2 separate regions of the Homo sapiens genome follow, and region 2 is linked to region 1. The links are contacts of gene promoters, found by promoter capture Hi-C in human tissues and cell types (Jung and others, 2019). All regions are on one chromosome and are shown on one strand. Each heading gives the region's core, a stretch centred on a gene start or on the middle of the fragment in contact. The rest is flanking DNA. Distances are from core to core; before and after follow the strand shown.

Region 1 (7,651 bases), core at 2,674-5,173:
TGGCCAACATTCAGCTATTGTTACAGGTATATACTATTAAGTTAAGTTTTCAAATTTGTCTGACTATAAAGCTAGGTTATAGTTCATCCACAAGGACTCAAATATAGAAGTACAAAGCCCTTCTCAGGCCATATTTAGTTTGCTTTAACACTGTGACAGACTGTACTAAGCACTTTCAATTCATGGAGCCACTTCATCAACCCTATGGCATAAATAGCCCCATAACATCCTCATACAAACAAAACTGAAGTTTATGGAGAGGTTAACTTGCTCAAGATTTTACAGATAAGGAATGGAAGGATCAGCATTTGAACCCAGACTCCTTAACCTGCCCTGTGTGTAGCGCCAAATCTCTTAACTGCTTTCTACAAGAAATCTGCAAACAAAATACTACTGGGTTCAGACTAATGCTATAGCTACAGAGGTAGTGTGACAGTGACATAAATGTATGAAACCAATGAAACAGAATAGAGAGACCAAAACCAGAAAACACATATATGGACACTTGATTTATGACAAAGAGGTGAAACAGAGGAGTGAGGAAAAGATAATGCTTTCAATCAATGGTGCTGGGTCAATTGTATATCCATATAGAAAAAAATGAAACTTGGCTCCTACCTCATACCATACACCAAGATAAGTTCTAGATGCATTGCAGATCTATATGATAAAAACAAAACAGAATTATAGAGCTGCAATATTGAGATGTCCAATAATGTCTGTCCAACACTGACATGTTCTGTAAGAGAGAAAATGCATATGTTGGACTACATTAAAATTAGAAACTTTCCAGTGTTATATTCTGTCCAGGATATATAAGGAACTTTACAAATAAGAAAACAGCCAAATAGAAAAATAGGTAGAAGATTTGAACACAAAAAGGTATCACAAAGAGGATATCTAAATGGCACACATATGGAAAAAGAATTCAACTTCATTAGTCATTAGTTGTTAGTGAAATTACTACTGAGATATTGTTATAGAGGCTTCAGGATTCCTTAAATGAAAAAGACTAGCAATACTAAGAGTTGGCTTGGAAGCAGAGCAACAGCAATTCTCACAGGCTGCTGGTGCATACATAAATTGCTACAGCCACTGGCCAGGCGTGGTGGCTCATGCCTGTAATCCCAGCACTTTGGGAGGCCAAGGTGGGCAGATCACAAGGTCAAGAGATTGAGACCATCCTGGCCAACATGGTGAAACCCTGTCTCTATTAAAAATACAAAAATTAGCTGGGTGTGGTGGCATGCGCCTGTAGTCCCAGCTACTCGGGAGGCTGAGGCAGGAGAATCGCTTGAACCCACGAGGTGGAGGTTACAGTGAGCTGAGATTGTGCCACTGCACTCCAGCCTGGCGACAGAGTGAGATTGTGTCTCAAAAAAAAACAAAAAATTGCTACAGCCACTTTGCAACAGTCTAGTGTTAACTACTAAATTATACATGTTACCTATGACACAGCAATTCTGCTTCTAGGTATATACTCCCAAAAATTCATGCACAAGTGCACTAAGATACATACACAAAATATCCATCGCAGCACCATTATACATTGTGGTATGTTTGTACAACAGAATACTACACAGCAAGGAAAAATGAAAAATGGCCACTACATACAACATGAATACATCTCACAAACATATTGTTAAGGAAAGGAAGCCAGGCACAAAAAAATACGTACTTTATAACTCCATTTATATAAAATTCAAAAACAGGGAAAACCAATCTATGATATTAGAAGGCAGAAAGTGGTCTACCCTTTGGGAGGAAGGAATGGGTAATGATTAGTAGGGGGGCTTCTGAGGAATTGGAGACATTTTATTTCTTGATTTGATTTGACCCCTCATGGCTTCTGGCTAACTCCAATTTATTTTCTGGATCTCAACCCAGGCTGTCACTCCAGGGGAAATTTTTGACTGTCCAAACCTACTCTGGAGTAACCAGAGCTCAGGGAAAACTGTGTTTCTTCTTCTTCTTCTTCTTCTTCTTTTTTTTTTTTTTTTTGAGATGGAGTTTCACTTTTGTTGTGCAGGGTGGAGTGCAAAGGCAAAATCTCTGCTCACTGCAGCCTCCACCTTCCGTGTTCAAGTGATTCTCCTGCCTCAGCCTCCGAAGTAGCAGGGATTACAGGCATGCACCACTATGCCCAGCTTATTTTGTATTTTTAGTAGAGACAGGGTTTCACCATGTTGGTCAGGTTGGTCTTGAACTCCTGACCTCAGATGATCTGCCCGCCTCGGCCTCCGAAAGTGCCAGATTACAGGTGTCAGCCACTGCACCCAACCTACTGTGTGCTTCTTATTACAGTCCTCATTCCACGCTCCTACAGCTACGTATTTAGTTGCCCATCTCTCCTAGAATGTGAGTTTCTTTAGGGCAGGGCACTGTGTGTGTGAGACTCATCTCTGTCTCCTCAGTGCCAAGTGACTGGTAGGAGCTGCAGTAAAAGATTTAGGAAGAAAGTGATCATGATCTTGGGGGTGGCTTTTCAATATTCAGACATTGGAGCCTGGGAATGGCACATGACTCCCGAGATACACAGTAAAGAACTACATAAAGTCCAGAGAAAGGCAACTTAACAACAGACTAAACAGACCAAGGATTAAGACTTTTTCATCCAGCTCAAGGGCCACAAGGTGGGCATGAACTTGAAACTGCAGGAGGTGTAAAAATTATACTTTAGCATTTATCAGTTTAAAATGTAGTGTTCCGTTCATTATTCATTCAGCAAAGCTGAGCACCCTGTGCTCTGTACTGTGCAAGAAGAGCACAAAGATGAAGGAGGCCCAGCTCCTCTCTCAAGGAGCTGTCTAGTTTATCTTTACAACCTTGTACATCCTTATTCCTTGTTGACAATTAGGGACATTACAGTTGAACTGTCGTTAAGAGCACAAGTGCACCAGCTGTAGTACTTTAAGCAAGTTATTTAATCTGTAAGGCTCAGCTTCCTCAAAGTAAAATGGGAATAGTAATATCTACCTTGTGGGATTTTGAAGATTAAGCGTGAAAATACGCAATAAAATGCTTAGCTTGATGCCTGGCACATGGTAAACATTCAACCATCATTATTAAGTGGTGTGCAAAGCATTTACAGCGTTAAGTTTAGGTACTCTATTTCATTTTTGTCCTCCCTCCAAACATTATAGCTCCTCTAATTTGCTTCTGTTCCTCGCGCCCTGCGCAAACCCTCCTAACAACTTTCAGGTACCATCTATCCCAGCCAATGTTAAGCCTTGTTCTTGCTCTGATCCGTTTGTCCTGTTTTCTCCTGTCTCTTCCTTTCTTTATCTCCTATTTTCTTCCTGCCCCTTCCCTCTCTTTTCTCCTCAGACTCCTCGTCTTTGGATTCTGCAGGCTCAGATTTGCTTTATGACTATGGAAAAACAAGTATTAACTGCCGAGTCTATTTTCAGATCTGAAAAATGGTAATAATACTATCTACTTATAGAATTGTTTTGTGGAGTAGATGAGATAAGAAAGTGCAAGCACTGTGTACATCGTACAGCGCCTTACAAAAATTCTTTACTGGCATCTCTAAACTACCCTCTTTCATTCTCTGCCTCCCCTTCCCGTCCCTGCCCAATTGTGAGACTAAGAAATTCTTCGAATTTAATATTAGGACATAACTCCAACCAGAGCGCAGCTTTTCTGGTTGTTCCCGCCTTCCATGCCTAAACGAACCAATCAGATCGCCCAGAGTGGCGCGGTATCGCCACTTGGAGACCACCGCGAATGAAGTTTGCATTTTCCTCTGTTCTTGAGCCCAGCTTCTTCTCGTCTCCCACCCCAGCTTCCCGGCATTGGAAGAAGGGACCGTCCTCTTCCTTGTCTTGGCCACCCAAATCCTGGTATCGAAAGGGTTGAACGGACCGGAAGTGTGCAGCAGCGACGGGTCCCCAGCTAATCGACGCCGGAAGTAGCAATTACTAGACAAGCATTCCGCCGCCGGCTTCGCTATGGCGGCAATTCCCCCAGATTCCTGGCAGCCACCCAACGTTTACTTGGAGACCAGGTGAGGGGGTTCGGGCGTCTGGGGCTGGCAGAGGAGACGCGGAGCCCGGGCCTCACCACGGGTCTGCGTTCCTGGCGCGTTCCTCCGGGAGGCCGGCCTCCACGTGGAGGGGCGTGGAGCAGCGGCCGAGACGGCCCCCAGAGGGTTGAGAGGGGACCGCCATCGCCCGCGTCCAAGCTCCGCGGGGTCTTGTGCTGAGGTCTCAGCAATAGCTGCCTGATTGTCCTCCTTCCCCCAGTCCGCTCATTCATTCATTCATTCATTCAACAAACGTGTAATGAGTCCGCAAGCCAGGCATATGGAATATGAGTTCTGAGGATACAGAGGTAGATAAAACACAGACAGCCCTGCCTTTAGGAGCTTACGGTATAATGAAAGAGACAGACATGTAAACATTACGTGATAAGTAATACAGTTGTAGAAACAAATTCCAGTAAAATACAGGAAGAAGCACATTTTCCCCACTATCAAAGAGTGATGTGGTAACCAACCTGCTGGCGCCATGCCCCGCTGTATGTCATCTCATTTAGTTTAATCTTAGCAACTCAAATCATGAAGGTATTATTTAACTTTCTCCCTTTCAATATTAGCAGGAGGAAACGCCGGAATTTACAGCTTAAAGCCTTGACCAAAGCCACACAGCTAGTAACTGGAAGAACCTCGTTTGGAGCCTGGTGTGCTCGTCTCACCTTGCTAGATCCTTTAGCTCTATTCATTCCATTGCCTCTTTGGAAAAAGCTCAAAGTGATCTTTACAAAGTAGGACAAGGAAGGGATCCTGCTCAAAAAACCTTTAATAACGTCTTGCTGCTATAACAGTATAAAGTAAAAACGTATTAATCCTGACATTCAAGGTGATTTTTTTCATCTGGCCCTTGTCTACCTGCCATTCTCCCCTCAACAGCCAGGGACCAGCCAAGGTCCTCTGCCTTTCTGTTCTTGCCCATTGCTGCTTTCAGCTAAAGCAGAGTTCTGTCAGTCCTCTCTCTATTTGCTCATGCTGTTCATTTCATGCTCCCTGGCCATCTTCCCCACCTTATATGGCAAAATTCTACATCTTCAGGCTCCAACCTGTAATTTCTGAATTCTCCTGTTGGTATTTTTTAAAGTTACAAAATAAATTGTTAAATCCAAGCAATGTAGACATACAGAGTAAGAAGTGAAAGTCACCTCCTTCCTGAAAACACCATCAACAGTTTGTTGGATGATTGTCCAGACTTTTTTCTATGTACATATAAACCTCTCTCATGTTTTTTTAACAAAAAAATGGGATCATATGATCATACTGTATGTATGTTTTTTCTGTAACTTGGTTTTCTTTCACTCAGTAATTCAGGTAGCTGCCCATAGTATGGATAGTTGATATTTTAGGCATTTCCTATTTCAAGGACATTTAAGTTGCTTCCTTTTTTTTTGGCTATGACAAATACTGAGATGAACATCCTTGCACATATTGTATCCTTAGGCACTTTTGTATATTTTCCTAGAGGATACTTGGAAGTTGAAATTACTGAGGTATGCACATTTCAGAATTGTATACGTACTTCCTGATTGTCTTTCCAAAAGGCTACTTTCTGTATTTTGAAAATATCCTCCAGAATGTAAGCTTCATGAGGGAAAGAGTACCACACACAGAGTAACTGTCAATCTGTGTTGAATGGGAGCAGTGTGAAAGATGAATTGGATGAATTTCAGGCAGAAAGGCTGTTAGCTATTTTCTAGCACACTCCTCATATACTTATAGAGTGTTTACACTGTGCAAGGCACTGGGTATCCAGACTATACAGAGTTGACTCAATTCTCACATCTGGCCAGGTGCCATAGCTCACATCTGTAATCCAGCACTTTGGGAGGCCAAGGCAGGTAGATTGCTTGAGCCCAGGAGTTCAAGACAAGCCCGGGCAACATGGTGAAACCCCATCTCTACAAAAAAATACAACAAATTAGCTGAGCTTGGTGATGCATGCCTGTAGTCCCAGCTACTCAGGAGGCTGAGGTGAGAGGATCACTTGAGCCCGGGAGGTGGAGGTTGCGATAAGCTGAGATTGTGCCACTGCACTGTAACCTGGGTGACAGAGGAGACCCTTTCTCAAAAAAAAAAAAATTGTCACATCCTTGGAGCTTAAAGTCTAGGTATGTGCTGGAGTAGAGGGGAAGGCACTCGTCCTTTCTCTTGCCTCTTCCTTATCTTTTAGTAGTACTGGTGAGGAAAAAGCACTCATCCTATTGGGTAGGTGCAAAGATTCAAAGTTACCAGGTTTTGCCTTTGTTATACTCCCTCCCAAACAAACACAAACTGTACCTTTTATTGAAATTTTTTGAATAGGTAATGTATTTACATGGATCAAAAATACAAAAGTTTTTAAAAGGTATTCATTAAACATCTTCCTATTTTCCATCTACCCAGTCCCTACCCCCACCCAGAAACTTCTAAATAAATATGAACTCCTGATATTTTAATGTCTCTTTTTTTAAAAAATTAAAAATTAAGTGTAAGAATTTTTTTCCTAATTTAGGGGTTGGTTATATTGGTTTCAGATAATCAGATATAGCTATATATATATACATATGTATATATGTATAGTATTAGAATTTTGAGTTCTCCATGCTTGTTATTTTGCTGAAAAGAAGTACCCAGAACACCTGCGTGTTTTACTCAAAAAAGATAATGGGTGTTTATGTTACTTGCATTGTGGTGTTTTCCTTTGCTGAGCATGAAATCCAGTGGTTATCACAATTTCATGACTTACAAGCTTGAAAATCAAGAGTCCTGGAGCAGTTCCATAATACTCCTGTCTGCCCTGACCTTTTTGTTTACTGGAGCTGTTGTCCTCTCCCTCTGCAGCATGGGAATCATTGTGCTGGAGCTGTACTGGAAGCATGCTCCAAAGACCTGTAAGAACTTTGCTGAGTTGGCTCGTCGAGGTTACTACAATGGCACAAAATTCCACAGAATTATCAAAGACTTCATGATCCAAGGAGGTGACCCAACAGGGACAGGTACAGTTAAGCCAACATTAGTTTATGTTTTCTTTTTTTTTTCTCCTTTTCGTCTTTTTTTCTAAAGCCAGCATTAGTTTCTGAAGTCTCTGTCGTAAATAGGTGATAAGGCAGCCAGAGCTCTCTTTTCCACTTACTAAGGTCTGTGTTGGTTGATTCTGGTGACAACGCCTGCCTTCCTCAAACACACATGTGTGGAATTGACCAGAAACCAACCTTTACTCCTAGGCTTGGTAGAGTTTTTCATAACTTACATGTACTGCTCACTAAGAACAAATAATATTTGTCTGAATTATAGTGATGCAAGTAGTCTGATCAATAAGAAGGAAAGACTTTATAATATTTTGAGAATAATAAAATCCTGGGTTCTTTTATCGATTCATTCATTTAACAAATACTGAGTACCTGTTTTGTGTCAGATACTTTTTTAAGCTCTAGGGAGATACCTATAAACAAAGAGACAGAATTATTGCTCTCAATAAAGCAGGAAAAGGGTGTGGGGATGGAATTTTAGTAGAAAAGTCAGGGAACTCCTCTCTGACATTATTGGAGAAGAGATCTGAATGAAGTAAGAAAGTGAACCTTGCAACTGTGGGGAGAACATTTTGGATGGAGGGAAGAGCAAACACAGAGGCCCTGAGGC
Region 2 (7,651 bases), core at 3,755-6,254, 410 kb before region 1:
GGAGATTAGAAAGCATGTGGACTTGGGAGAATCTCAGCCAGTCACCACTGCATCAGATTGAAGAGGCCCTCTCAAGCAGGTGGAAGGCAGAAAAACCTCCCAGGGAGACCAACAAACAGGAAATGGTTATATGGTTTTTGGAGATGGTTATCTAGTGTAGGAGGGACACAGAGAATCTAGAGACATAAAGGATGCTTCCCAGCCTCTCTGTCATAGATCGTTGTGCCTACAGCGGGCAAACAGAGCTGAGAAACGGTTTCTTTCACTGTCAACACTGCTGCCTTCATAGGTAGTGAGAACAAAGCCTTTCCTGGAAGGGAGCTGGCCTCTCTGCCTTCACTAGACCTACCCATTTGCTTTGTGTAGTTGAGGAAAAGGCATAGCACCCTCATTTGCATTCGGCCCAACACTCTAATGGGAACGCTCTTACACTCTATTTCCTCTCTGTTGCTAAATGATCCCTCTATCTTGAAAATACAGCCAAAGCTAGAACCATCGTTTTCAGGAAAATCTCAATAATTCCCTGCCTCACTCTCTTTCTTTGCACTTCTTGTGACCTGGGTCTGTCTAGATGCCTCTATTAAAAAGCTCCTCCAGGTTGGTCTTTCCAAAGGACTTAGAAGGGCTTCTACTCTATAGGATCAGCCCCTTGTAAATACTCAAATCCTTGGCGCCTGGCTGTAACAATGGCCAAGTACATGGAAGCTAGCTGTTCAGAATCAGGAGACCTGTGATCATCCTCTCTAGTCAGGGTGGAACAACACAGACACACTCACATGGTACAAGTGAAGTGGTCAAAGAGATGGAAACTGAAGAGCACCAAGCCTGGTAATCAGGGGAGACCATGGGATGTTCGCTATAGAAAAAGTCTGGGATAATCCTGCCTTATAGAGAGGAGTGGATAGGAGAACCGCTGGAGGTCTTCCAATGTCTCTTCTACTAGTGTGGGTAATTCTTACATACTATAGGCAATTATCAAGTATCTTTCAGGTTTTCAAAGCAAGCCTTTCCGTATTCAGTGTTACTTAGTTCTTTGCTTCTTGGTTGGCATTTTTACCAGCCTGGATGGTGGCTCACGCCTTGTAATTCCAGCATTTTGAGAGGCAGAAGCAGAAAGAATTGCTTGAGGCCAGGGGTTCGAGACCAGTCCTGGGCAACAAAGCAAGACCCCATCTCTACAAAAAATTATGAGAAAAAAAATTAGCCAGGTGTGGTGGTGCATGATTGCAGCCCCAGCTACTTGGGAGGCTGAGGCAGGAGGACTGCTTGAGCCCGGGGAGTAGAGGTTGCAGTGAGCTATGATCATGCCACTGCACTCTAGCCTGGGTGACAGAGTGAGACCCTGTCTCTTAAAAAGTTAAAATAAAAAAAATTTAAAAGATGACTGTAGCCTGCTAGATGAAATGGTCATTCAGGAAAAATTGGGGAGAATAAAGTTTGAGTTCCCATATTGTATTCAGGATGCACTACTAAAAGAAGCCACCACCCCCCAACCTCTTTTTTTTTTTTTTTTTGAGACAGGATCTTGCTCTGTCACCCAGGCTGGAGTGCAGTAGCACGATCATGGCTCATTGCAGCTTTGACCACCTGGGCTCAAGAGATCCTCCCTCCTCAGCCTCCCAAGTAGCACAGGCACAGTAGCACAGGCACACACCACCATGCCTGGCTAATTCTGTAATTTTTTTGAGACAGGGTCTTGCTATGTTACCCAGACTGGTCTCAAACTCCTAGGCTCAGGCTGGTCTCAAACTCGTGGGCTCAAGCAATCCCTCTGGCCTTGGCCTCCCAAAGTGCTGGGATTATAGGAGTGAGTCATCACGCCTGGCTGAGAAGCCTTTTAAACTGACTACTTTCCTCATCTCCAAATTCAGAGTAAGCATGCACAGGTAAAAGAAAAGTCTCTGAACATCTCCAAGTTAAAATGAGGAATAAGCAGTGCTGAGCCATGGAAAACTGTATGGGAGGATAAAGGGATCATGAATGGGTTTTTAGCTTCCTGTGAGCTGAATCTTATAGTTAAAATAATGATGTTACCTTCAAAATCTTCTTTATGCTATGGGTAAGACATGAGGGACCCCACCAGTGGAGACATCTATATTTAAACAAAATTATAAATATAACCCAAAGTCAAATAGAAATTATTTTCAGCATTTTAACCACCATCCCTCTCTACTATGAGAACTGAAAGTTCCGTTAAAAGAGCACTAGTACTTAGTGTCCTGGCTACTGTAAAGTTGCAAAGGAAATCCCTAATCTTAAGAAGTTTACAGTTACTGCTTGAGTCAAAACATAATAGCCCCACTGACACCTTCCATGTACTTCATTAACTTGTTAGGTCTCAAAATATAACTACTACTCCCACTTCTAAATATATACCCAAAAGAATTTAAAACAGAGACTCAAACAGATATTCACATACCCATACTAGCAGCAGCATTACTCACAATAGCCAAAAGGTGAAAGCAACCCATGTGTCCACTGATAGATGAACAGCTCAACAATATGTGTTACATATGTACAACGGAATATTACTCAGCCTTAAAAAAGGAAATTCACACATGCAACAACAGGGATGAACCTTAAAGATATTATGCTAAGTGAAATAAGCCAGTCACAGAAGGACAAATATTGTATGATTCCACTTATTTGAGCTGCCTGGAGTAGTCAAATTCTTAGAGACAAATAGAATGGAGGCTGCAGAAGAGAGTTAATATTTAATGGATACAGAGTTCCAGTTTGGGAAGATGAAAAATGTTCTGGAAGTGGATGGTGATGATGGTCATACAATAACGTGACTGTACTTAATGCCACTGAACTGTACACTAAAAAATGGTTAACACAGTAAATTTTATATTATGTATATTTTACCACAATTTAAAAAATCACTACTTCCAGCTTGATAAAGTAGAGCAAATACAGGAATAGGAATTCTAAGATGTGGGTTCTTCATTCTGCCACCAGGTAGCCTCAAAATTCTGAGCAAGTTCCTTAGCCTTTCAAAGTGTTATTCCGCTCACAGATTTGTAACAAAGATCAAATGAAAATGTATGAAACCATGCTCTGAAGGAACCAAAGCTGCATATATGAACATAAGGTACTATTATGATTAGCCGCAAACCTGTAAACAGGTGCCACAGAACTATGCGGGGAGAAGCGCCAAAGAACATTAAGTAATTCCCTCACCTCCTGTACAAGTGGTTGCTGGAACAACGGAATGAGAGGATTCGTCCTTGGAATGTCAATGTGAATCTGAAAAAGAGAAGGCATGTCCAAAAACACAAATGCCAGTTTTTTTTTGTTTTTGTTTTTTTGAGATGAAGTCTCGCTCTTGTCCCCCAGGCTGGAGTGCAATGGCACTATCTCAGCTCACTGCAACCTCTGCCTCCAGGGTTCAAGCGATTCTCCTGCCTCAGCCTCCCAAGTAGCTGGGATTACAGGCACCTGCCACCAGGCCTGGCTAATTTTTGCATTTTTAGTAGAGACGGGGTTTCACCATGTTGACCAGGCTGATCTCGAACTCTTGACCTCAGGTGACCCACCCGCCTTGGCCTGCCAAAGTGCTGGGATTGCAGGTGTGAGCCACCGTGCCTGGCCCAGTTTGTTCTTTTGACAATTTTTTTTTAAAGAAATGGGAATCATCTGGCTGGGTGCGGTGGCTCACGCCTGTAATCCCAGCACTTTGGGAGGCCAAGCCGGGCGGATCATGAGGTCAGGAGATCGAGACCATCCTGGCTAACACGGTGAAACCCTGTCTCTACTAAAAATACAAAAAATTAGCCGGGCGTGGTGGCGGGTGCCTGTAGTCCCAGCTACTCGGGAGGCCGAGGCAGGAGAATGGTGTGAACCCGGGAGGTGGAGCTTGCAGTGAGCCGAGATCGGGCCACTGCACTCCAGCCTGGGCGACAGAGCAAGACTCTGTCTCAAAAAAAAAAAAGAAATGGAAATCAAAGTAGTAAGAAAACACAATTTATCTTCAGAAAGAAGTGACTGACACAGGAAAAAAATCTAGTTATACCTACCTGCCCATGTGGAACATGTTTCCATGACAACAATAGCTTATTAAACAGTGAGGAAACCTCCCAAAAGAAACCACTAAAGTCAAATGGCAATAGGCTTCACAGATTAAGGGTTTTTTCTTATTGCTCTGAAGTCTGTTTCACTCTGGGCTGGCATGTATGTAGCAGGTATGATCCAAGTAGGTACCCATCTTTCAGAATCTTACTCATCAACAGTTCCTAAGAACTAGAAGAGCTCAGAAAGCTGCAAAAATGTCCTAAAATAGGGAACCAGAGATGAACTTGCTTATGAAGTCATGATGTGTAAGAAGCGGGGAAGGGCCAGGGCGATGGCTCACGCCTGTGATCCCAGCACTTTGGGAGGCTGAGGCGGGTGGATCACTTGAGGTCAGGAGTTTGAGACCAGCCTGGCCAACATGGTGAAACCCCGTCTCCACTAAAATTACAAAAATTACATGGTGGCTCATACCTGTAATCCCAGCACTTTGGGAGGCCAAGGTGGGTGGATCACCTGAGGCCAGGAGTTCAAGACCAGCCTGGCCAACATGGCGAAACCCCATCTCTACTAAAATTACAAAAATTAGCTGGGTGTGGTGGTGTGCGCCTGTAATCCCAGCTATCCAGGAGGGTGAGGCAGGAGAATCGCTGGAACCCAGCGGACAAAGGCTGGAGCAAGCCGAGATTGCGCCACTGCACTCCAGCCTAAGTGACAGAAAAAGACTCGGTCTCAAAAAAGATAAAGAAAAAATTAGCCGGGCCTGGTGGCACATGCCTGTAATCCCAGCTACTCAGGAAGCCGAGGCAGGAGAATCACCTGAATCCAGGAGGTGGGGGCTGCAGTGAGCCAAGATCACGCCACTGCACTCCAGCCTGGACGACAGAGTGAGACTCCATCTCAAAAAAAAAAAAAAAAAAAAAAAAAAAGTGGGGAAGGACCAAAAGGAGTTGGCCTTCAGTAACTGAAGCTGAAAGTTCTTACTTCTGTTACCTAAGACATCACTATAGTCCATTTCAACTCAGGGATTTCCCAGTGCCCAGTCTAACTATGCAAAAGACTGTGTCAGCAGCAGCAGCAGCAGAGGCTACTTCAGTTCTTGAGGCTTGTTGTAAATAGCTGCCCACCTTCCACTTTCTGCAACCCCTGGCCTACTCTTCTCCTCCCTCCACATGTGATGTTGGGAGCAGACCTTTCCGCAGACCATGAGGACCATTATGGGCAATGACAGAAGACTCCCTGACAAGACTACTGAAAGCTACAGCTCCTACAGTCACAGATGCCAAAACAGCAGTGCAGCTGCCAGGAAGACATACTGATGTCATAGTCCAGAGGGACTGGACCACGGCTAGGTAAGCTTGTCTTTCCTCTCCATGCTCGATAACGCTTACTACTCACAGTGTGGTTGGTGGACCAGCAGCAGCAGCATTGCAAGGGAGCACATCAGAACTTCAGGCTTTACCTGAGACCTGCTAAATCAGAATCTGCATTTTCTCATAATCTCTAGGTGAGATCTTATCAAGATCCTAGGTGATTTGTATGTACATTAAAGTTTGAGAAGCAGTGCACTGACTAGTGCCAAAAAAGTCTGTCTATTTAAAATGGCTAAAATCAGAGTTGCTGAATGAAAAGAGGGGAAACAGTTTTGAGGATAAATTTAACTCCTAACCAATATACCACAGCCTGAAGACTTGGAAAGCCTGTACCCTGAGAGCACTACCATGAGACATACCTAAAGTATATGACTGGTAAGCAAAGAGGCAGCAGGTGGTGACTGTACCTGTCTGTAGGTATCCTGGTGATGTTCCTCGTTTCGAGAGTCATAATACTGTTCAATGAAGCCAAAATATTCCTCCCGCTTCCGCTGCAGGGTCAACTTCCTCCTCTCAGTGTTTGCTGGGAGATAGCCCTATAGACAAGACTGCTGGTCAGATGGGGAAAGACAATGGTTGGATAAATCCTTAATTTTTATTTTAATCTATGCAGTGGTTTGGAAACTACCAAGAAGGAAAACTGCCAAGGGTAAATCCCTTTTTGGTTCTGGCCACCCATTTTTTGCCCTCTCCTCATTCAATGAGATCCACATGTGAGCAGATGAAGCAAGGCCAGCTTTCCCAGGATTATTTACTCCCTTGGCCCTGCACTGTGCTGGAGCTTGTGCCACTGGTGAGCACTCCTCAGCTCCCAGAGCTGGCACAGTACAGCAGTGAATGTAGGTCAGTGGGAGGGAGCTGGACCCAAGTCATGGCCTCGGAGGGCTGTGTGTGTCCAGGGCCATACTTCTGAGAAATGCAGGGATATAGCAACCTCTACAGCACATCTCAGCAGTGTGCCAAGTAAGTTGGTGCCAGTTACATTCTTTTCCAGTGTAACTTTCAGAATTACCAGCTTAGGAAGCAGCTGAATGGAATCTGTGACATACAGCTACAACACTCAGACAGAACTTCTGGCAGCAGCCCCCGGCCTAGCCAAAGCTCCAGGCCAACTTTCATTCTTATCCCTGGTCTAGATCCCACTCTCATTCTTATATTTTCTGTTCCCCTTCCGTTCTCACCAAATCTACTCTGAATAGTATTCAAACTTATTAGAAGTGGCAGAGGCAATGATTGCATGGTTGCAAGAGTAGAGGTGGGGGCGAGCAGTCAGGAGACAGACCCTTCTTCTTGAAAACATTTATGTAATGCATTCTGCAGTGAGTGCCTGGAGAGTGGGGACTGTGGTTTATTCATTTTTGCATCTGCTCAAAGCATCTGGCACTATGCCTGGCAAACAGCAGGCTCTCAATAAATCCTCACTAGATGAATGAATGAATTTTACAGGCTCAGGAAACCCAAGTGTTTCTATCATAGCGGCTGGCACAGTGCTCTGTACTTGGTGAAAGCAGGACTAGTAAAGCTTCCAAGGGAGGCCAATTTATCAACTCTTCACAGATCAAAGTGGGTTTCAACTTTTGGTTATTCCGGCTGAAACAGGAGTGAAGCACAGGGAACGTTGGAGCTTACTCAAAGCAAGTGCTGGGATCACCCTATCTCACTCTATTCTTCTTCCTCGCTGTTAAGAACATGACACCATGACTATTGGTACAAGTCTGTGTACCACTACATGTGTGTGAATAAACTCTCAAGAATGTATTTCTTTATGCACAGAAATAGGACTATAGTCCCATAGTTCTGTCATATCCAGTAGGACTAGAGAAGTCTATGGAGTTAAGACCAATGTGTCCAGACTAACCTCATCAGGCAAGAAGGGCTGTGTGAGGCTCACATTTCTCTACACAGTGGGTAGAACTCACCGACAGGAGTCTCCAGGTTATAGGTCGAACCTCCCTGGGAACCCCTGGCCAGCTACACTTCCTCAGTTCATCTGTAAATAGAAAACAGCCTTGTTAGGTTAACTCTCCACAAATGCTCTAAAGCAAACCGCAACCAGCACTGCCTGATGTCTCCTTCCATCCATGTAAGACCACCACCACCACCTGCTACCCATAAGCACAGTGAAAAGCCCAAAACAGCCCCGAGCAGCTAAGTGCCAAGGACACGGCCTTGCAGTAGCAGTCCTGTCAGCTCAGAGATGAAAGTTAGAGGGGAAGGGAAAGACCAGTGGGTGTAGATTTCAGTAAGAGTCACCTTGAGATAAGGAA

What was found. Contacts are between HindIII fragments. The study calls those that stand out against the background at their distance.
Region 2: a fragment that was not itself captured here is called in contact with the fragment with the promoter of PPIL1 in region 1 in 1 of the 25 tissues and cell types used here (IMR-90 fibroblasts).

Annotation. Positions count from the first base shown.
Region 1 is chr6:36,871,075-36,878,725 of GRCh38, reverse strand. It overlaps PPIL1 (peptidylprolyl isomerase like 1), which reads left to right and starts at 3,923. Exons shown (of 4, transcript NM_016059.5): 1 at 3,923-4,009; 2 at 6,854-7,008. The coding sequence starts at 3,954. It also overlaps a transcript of C6orf89 not described here. RefSeq lists an enhancer at 3,703-3,932. The HindIII fragment of the contact is 10,323 bases long and covers 1-6,188 here.
Region 2 is chr6:37,282,605-37,290,255 of GRCh38, reverse strand. It overlaps TBC1D22B (TBC1 domain family member 22B), which reads right to left. Exons shown (of 13, transcript NM_017772.4): 5 at 7,304-7,374; 6 at 5,792-5,920; 7 at 3,184-3,249. Among named protein-coding and RNA genes, the nearest start is that of TMEM217B, 28 kb to the right of the region's middle. RefSeq lists silencers at 2,277-2,336, 2,377-2,466 and an enhancer at 4,128-4,177. The HindIII fragment of the contact is 6,830 bases long and covers 1,590-7,651 here.